Regions from separate parts of the Homo sapiens genome. Here region 2 is linked to region 1. Evidence: promoter capture Hi-C in 16 types of primary human blood cells and fetal thymus (Javierre and others, 2016). All regions are on one chromosome and are shown on one strand. Each heading gives the region's core, a stretch centred on a gene start or on the middle of the fragment in contact. The rest is flanking DNA. Distances are from core to core; before and after follow the strand shown. Region 1 holds the start of RPL26L1 (ribosomal protein L26 like 1). Region 2 holds the start of STK10 (serine/threonine kinase 10).

Region 1 (3,063 bases), core at 239-2,738:
CTCCAACATTAACTGTGAAGGGCCCGGAATAAAACCTAGTATTAGTAGGCCAGGCGCAGTGGCTCACGCCTGTAATCCCAGTACTTTGGGAGGCCGAGGCGGGAGAATCACCTGAGGTCGGGAGTTCAAGACCAGCCTGACCAACATGGAGAAACCCCGTCTCTACTAAAAATACAAAATTAGCCGGGCGTGGTGGCGCATACCTGTAATCCCAGATACTGGGGAGGCTGAGGCAGGAGAATCGCTTGAACTTGGGAGGCGGAGGTTGCGGTGAGCCGAGATGGTGCCACTGCACTGCAGCCCAGGGAACAAGAGCGAAACTCTATCTCAAAAAAAAAAAAAAAAAAAATCTAGTATTAGTAAACGCAGGTGTTTAACAATGTCACCACTACATGTCAGGGAACACTGATAAACTAAGAGAGAGCACGGGACCTGCCTGGGTGTGGCTGCTGTACTTGCAAGACATCTTCCCTCTCTGAGTTTCAGCATGCCGGCATTTGGCACTAAGTTGTCGTTCAACATATATGGAATGAATGAACGAAAGGGAGAGTTGGAGTTAATAACACCTTGCATAGAATAAACCCCGTCGGTTCTTAACCCGAAGAGAGTCGAGACCCAGAGCCCTTTTCCTTCCCTGCCGCCACGGTGCCCACGGAGGGGGCGTGGTTGATCTCCCTCACAGCTCCGTCGGGACCAGAGACCCGGGGACCTTTTACACCCAGGGTCCGCGCAAAGTGTCGGCCTAGCCAGTGGTTGGGTGGCGCCCGGGCCTCCAGGCAGTCTTCCAGGGGTCGGCGAACGAAACGCGGAGCTCGGGAGCGACCCGGCGGGGCCAGGCACGGGCAGAAGGGCCAAGAGGGCCACAGGTGGGCGCGGAGCGGCCGGAGTGGGCGGGGACTGGATGAGAGGGGCGGGGTCTAGGAGAGAGGGGCGGGGCGGCGGCCACAAACCCGCAGGCACGCCGCCGGCCGCCGTTTAGTCCCAGAGATAGAAAAAAGTAGAGGTAGGAGGGCGCGGCGGCTCACGCCTGTAATCCCAGCACTTTGGAAGGCCGAGGCGGGCGGATCACGAGGTCAGGAAATCGAGACCATCCTGGCTAACAGGGTGAAACCCCGTCTCTACTAAAAATACAAAAAATTAGCCGGGCGTGGTGGGGGGCGCCTGTAGTCCCAGCTACTCGGGAGGCTGAGGCAGGAGAATGGCGTGAACCCGGGAGGCGGAGCTTGCAGTGAGCCGAGCTCGCGCCACTGCACTCCAGTCTGGGCGACAGAGCGAGACTCCGTCTCAAAAAAAAAAAAAAGAACACCAGTAAGCCTCTACCGCAGGCCCTACACAAGCAGGCCCTTGTACTCACTGGCATCGCCCTCCCGGGGCCGCCAGGAATGAGGCACTGAGATCCCACCCCAAGCCGCTGGGGGCGCCATTCGACTTCGCTCCTACGGAAATGGGGCTTCGATGTCTTTCTGCGCTTGCGCGGCACGGAAACTCACTTCCGGCCCTGCGCACTCAGGGTCTGAGGCAGCTAGTAGCCGGGTGAGTGGAGGCTGGAGTTTTCTCGGACAGTGAACTCTACCGCCCCGTGAGACCCTGCCCTATGTGTCGCGGGAACACATGTCACCCCACAGCTCTCTTTGAGTGACCTCCCGACCACCCATTCCTGCCTAACCCTAGCATTCCTTCCTCAGCCTCAAGGTCCCAGTGCTACCCTCTCCCCCACGACCCCTTTAGACGGGCATGCGACCTCCACACACGCCTCACTTTATGTGATAGTCAGACTAGTCGCATCTCTCTGTCCTCCCTCAGTTGCCTTTTCAGAGGCTACCTCCCCTGTAGAGCCTTTGTTGGGGGATGAGGAGTGTCTTGGGTCGAGAACAGGCCCCTGTAACCCACTGAGCGCCCCTTCATTCCGTCTCTCTCCGCCCTTTGTAGAGGGTCACCATGAAGTTCAATCCCTTCGTTACCTCGGACCGCAGTAAAAACCGCAAACGTCACTTCAATGCCCCCTCACACGTGCGCAGGAAGATCATGTCATCCCCGCTCTCCAAGGAGCTGCGGCAGAAGTACAATGTCCGCTCCATGCCCATCCGCAAGGACGACGAGGTCCAGGTACGTCTCCCTCCGGCGCTAGTGGCGCTCGGACACCGTTGCCTAAGAACGTCATGCGTGGAGCAGTCACAGACTCACATGCCTCAGGACTCTGGAAAGTAGTGTGACCCTTCAGATGTGTTAGGCCAGAGATAGGGTTCAGAGCCACCAGAGAGTGCCTGCGTTGCTTTAGAGCATTTAATTATTTAATAGTAATAGTAAAATTTAATAAAACAGTATGTCAACCAAGCAAAAACCTGCTTTTTTGTTTGTTTTGTAGAGATAGGGTCTTGCTATGTTGCCCAGGCTGGTCTCTGAACTCCTGGCCTCAAGTGATCCTCCCACCTCAGCCTCCCAAAGCACTGGGATTACAAGTGTGAGCCACCGTGCCCCACCAAAAATACTTTTGATTTAACCTTCTGGCTGCTAGTTTGCCAAGTGTTGTTGCCCAGGGTGGCTTGTTGAACCAGACTGTAGGGGAAGGTGCTGCAGTGAGAGTAGTGTTTTAGTGTATTTGGGTGTAGTGGGATTGATGGACAGAGATTTGTGGGAGCTGGCCATGTGATAGCATTGGATTTGGCAGGAGAACTGGTAAAGATGCAGCGAGTCACTCTTTCATAATTTCTAAAAGACTGGCCCATGTGAGAACGTACAAGCCCTCTGTTCTCTGTGATTGGAGCTTAGAATGCATGAGAGGAGGGAAGGGAGTTGGATATGAGTGAAATAAGCAGGGGCTAGATTCATTCCTCAAAGGAATATTTATGGAGCACTTACCAGAGATTGTTCTAGGACAAGATTGACGAGGCCCTTGTTCTCATGGAGATCACGTTTTAGAGCAGGGTTTCCTAGCCTCAGCTCTATTGATATGTTGGACTGGATAATTGTTGTGGGGGGTGGGGGGTGGGGGCTGTCCTGTGCATTGTAGAATGTTTAGCAGCGTCCCTGGCCTCTCCCCACTAGATGCCAGTGGCACTCCCT
Region 2 (3,063 bases), core at 351-2,850, 770 kb before region 1:
AAAAAAGAAAAGAAAAAAGAAAAAACGCCACCACTCCAAGCCTCTAGGGCAGTACTTCTCAAACCTATTTGCTTAGGAATCACCTGGGATCTTATTAAAACGTAGACTCTAATTCAGCAGGTCGGGGCTGGGCATGAGATTGTTCACTTCTGACAAGCTCCCAAATGATGCTATTATAACACCGGTCATCTAGGAACTACTTCGGTAACTAGGCGATAGACCACTTCCAAGTCAGAGGAGAAGGCCTGGAGAAGCCTTCTCTGTGGTCCAGCCTCATAGAACGGCAATCCTAGGGTCAGAGTGCCCTACAAGCTACAGGAGCCCCAAGGAGGAGGATAGTGGCTTAGAAGAGAGGTGCTCTCCTGGAGGTATACACCAATTTAACAAGTGGGCGTCTCCCAGTAAAAATTTTCTTAGGGGAAAGGGGGGAGTCAAGCTGTAGGTGTTGGCTCCCTAAAACAACTCACCACCTCAGAATTAGCTCCCAGGAGCAGAAACCAACGTCCTGCTGCCACACTTCTCTAGACTCAATCAGCTCTGCCCCACCCACTCCACAAAAGCTCTCTGCCGCGTCTTCCTCTAGGGGAGAGGTGACTGCAGGCTGGGAGACTCCCCAGCTGTGACTCAGACCGACGGAATCAAATCTGTTCCCCCAGGCTCAGCATTCACCAGATCCTGACCTCCCCCTCTGACCAGCCCCAACCCACCTTTCCAAGCCCCACCTCTCAGTCCATGGGCCACCCCTCGCCCACCCCACTTCCCTGTCTCTGGCTCATCTTCAGATGTGTCCCTAGCTCCCAACCCGTCCAAGCGCAGCCGAGTTTCTCGGTCCACATCGCCTCGATATTCCCACAGCATCTGTGGTCTCTCTTAAAAAAAAAAGTGTGCCCGTATCGCCGTTTTACGGAACGTCCCTGGAAGGTCCCTCGAGTGGCCCTCTCGGATGCTGAGGTCCTGTCAACGCCCCTTTGTCTCCCCGTGCGGCGCCGAGCGCAGTGCAGGACACACAGGAAGTGCTCCGAAACAGGGCTAGGGTGGGGGCGGCAACCGTGCCCGGAGGGGGCGCCCAGAGCGCAGGGACTCGGCCGGGCCGAGTGATGTTCCCCCCAAAAAACAAGAGTCATCGGGATGAGGGCCAGGGACCCCGAATTCAGCGCCGGGCAGCCCTCGGAGCCGGAGCCAGGCTGGCCGGGTCCGGCTCAGGCATCCCTTCCTTCCGGAGCCCCTCGACGCGCGTCCGGCCACCCACCTCAGCGCCCTCACCTTGTAAACCTTGCCGAAGGCGCCGTCGCCCAGCTCGCCCACGATCTCCCACACCTCGTTGGGGTCCAGGTCGCGGCGGACGTGCTCATATTCGCGGGACTTTCTCTTCTCGAAGGTAGACAGGCGCAGGATGCGGCGGAAATTGGCAAAAGCCATGGCCGGGGGCGCGGTGGCGCCGGCTCGGGCTCGGGCTCGGGCTCGGGCTGTGGCTTCGGCGGCCGCGAGGAGAAGGAGGAGGAGTTGGAGGACGCCGCGTCTCTCGGGGTTCTCCCCAGACCCGCCTTTCCCCGCAGCCCGACCTCGGTCAAGTGTGCCCTGGGCAGCGCCGCGCCGGGAGCACCCGGAACCGCGCAGGCGGCGGCGTGCCCGCCCCCGCCCCCGCCCTGTCAGGTCCCCAGGGCCGCCTCCCTTGTGCCGGCCTCGCAGCTCCTGCCCGGCCCAGCCCTGCCTGCGAGAGCCTCGGACCCGTTCCAGGGGACCGTCCCCGCGCCCGCCCACCGGCCCGGCTCCACCCGCCGCTCCCCGGCAGAGCCCCGGGACCCCCTAATTGGCTGCGGGCGCTCCCCGGCTCCGCCCGTCGCCGCAGGGCACTCTGGAAACTGTAGTCCCCCCACACCACGCTCCGCGAGCCGCGGGCTGGGCTTTGGGGAAGCTTCGGGGACCGCTCGGTGGGACCGCTCATGGACTCAGGAGCCCGCCCGCCGCGCCGCGTGGCTCCCAAAACTTTTATGGGAGCAAGCGGGACGGCGACTTGGCATTTCGCGAGAGCCCACGGATCGTTGTCAGCGCCCAGAAGGTGAACCTGCACTCGTTCATTTAATCCTCCCGCAGCTATTCCGCTAGGCTGCCCTCGCCCCCACTTTTCCGATGGGGACGCCGGCAGGCGAGGGCACTCGCCCCAGGCACACACGCTGGCTGCCCGTCTGCTGCGGGTTCCTCGGCGCGGTGCTGCCTCCTAGTGTGCGACGGGCAACGCCGGTGCAGCCGCGGCCAGTCCCTGCAGGGCCCGGCTTCCCGGCGCGGTCCTTTCCAGGGGCTCCCCGTCCACGATCCACAAACCTGCCAGGATTAGAGGGCTGGGAGAAAGAGCTCCTTTGGCACTGATTTCTCTTATGTTTCCTGATGGGTTTGCGGATGTATTTGCATATTAAATAAAAACTTTATTCTAATTTTTAATTTCCTAGTTTCAAAAAAGATGAGCGCACTACATACAGATCAAACTAAAGTCTTCTTTGAGCACCTTCATTCTCGATCCTGGCTACTTGAGTCACTTCACTGCTACTGTTGCCTGTTTGTCCTATAGACGGTTATAACATGCTTTTACCTGAATCTAAGGAGAGTGCTGGGGGTGGGGGGGGGGGGCGGGCAGTCTGCAAGGGTTATTATTTGGACCGTGTCATAAACAAGTTGAGTCTTCGCAAATGTCACAGTTCAATAGCTCCAACCCCAGAGAACGGCTGTGTTGAGGTGTTTTCGCCCCTTCCTCGGTGCTTTGTTCGAAAACATCCTTTGAACAGTGTGCAAACACCAAGCATGGTTTTCCACTGGGAAAGCCAGCTCAAGAAGCCTGCGATGCTGGTAGTGGTCGGCGCAGAGGGTGTCCTGGTTGCTAAGCCGTTCGGAATGTTTCCACAGCTGCAGGAGTGCCTGGAATTGTAGAGGGTCTTTAAAAGAAGGAAACGCCGCTCGTCGCTGACCGTTCTCATTGAGTCAGGCGCTGTCTGAACCTCCCAAAACATGCTGAAAGGCAGGTCTTTCATTTGTTTCAGACCATTTGGCCAACTGTACGAAGCGGGTGGG

Evidence for each region. The method cuts DNA at HindIII sites, captures the fragments that hold promoters and counts their contacts. A CHiCAGO score of 5 or more calls a contact.
Region 2: the fragment with the promoter of STK10 here is called in contact with the fragment with the promoter of RPL26L1 in region 1 in 3 of 17 cell types (naive B cells, naive CD4 T cells and activated CD4 T cells); the score reaches 5.7 in naive B cells.

The regions. Positions count from the first base shown.
Region 1 is chr5:172,957,936-172,960,998 of GRCh38, forward strand. It overlaps RPL26L1 (ribosomal protein L26 like 1), which reads left to right and starts at 1,489. Exons shown (of 4, transcript NM_016093.4): 1 at 1,489-1,533; 2 at 1,930-2,106. The coding sequence starts at 1,939. RPL26L1-AS1 (RPL26L1 antisense RNA 1) reads right to left here and starts at 1,433. Exons shown (of 4, transcript NR_026682.1): 1 at 1,355-1,433; 2 at 204-322. The HindIII fragment of the contact is 11,810 bases long and covers 1-3,063 here.
Region 2 is chr5:172,186,624-172,189,686 of GRCh38, forward strand. STK10 (serine/threonine kinase 10) reads right to left here and starts at 1,601. Exons shown (of 19, transcript NM_005990.4): 1 at 1,264-1,601. The coding sequence starts at 1,419. RefSeq lists enhancers at 454-533, 1,586-2,361 and silencers at 994-1,073, 1,204-1,253, 1,554-1,913. The HindIII fragment of the contact is 8,713 bases long and covers 1-1,913 here.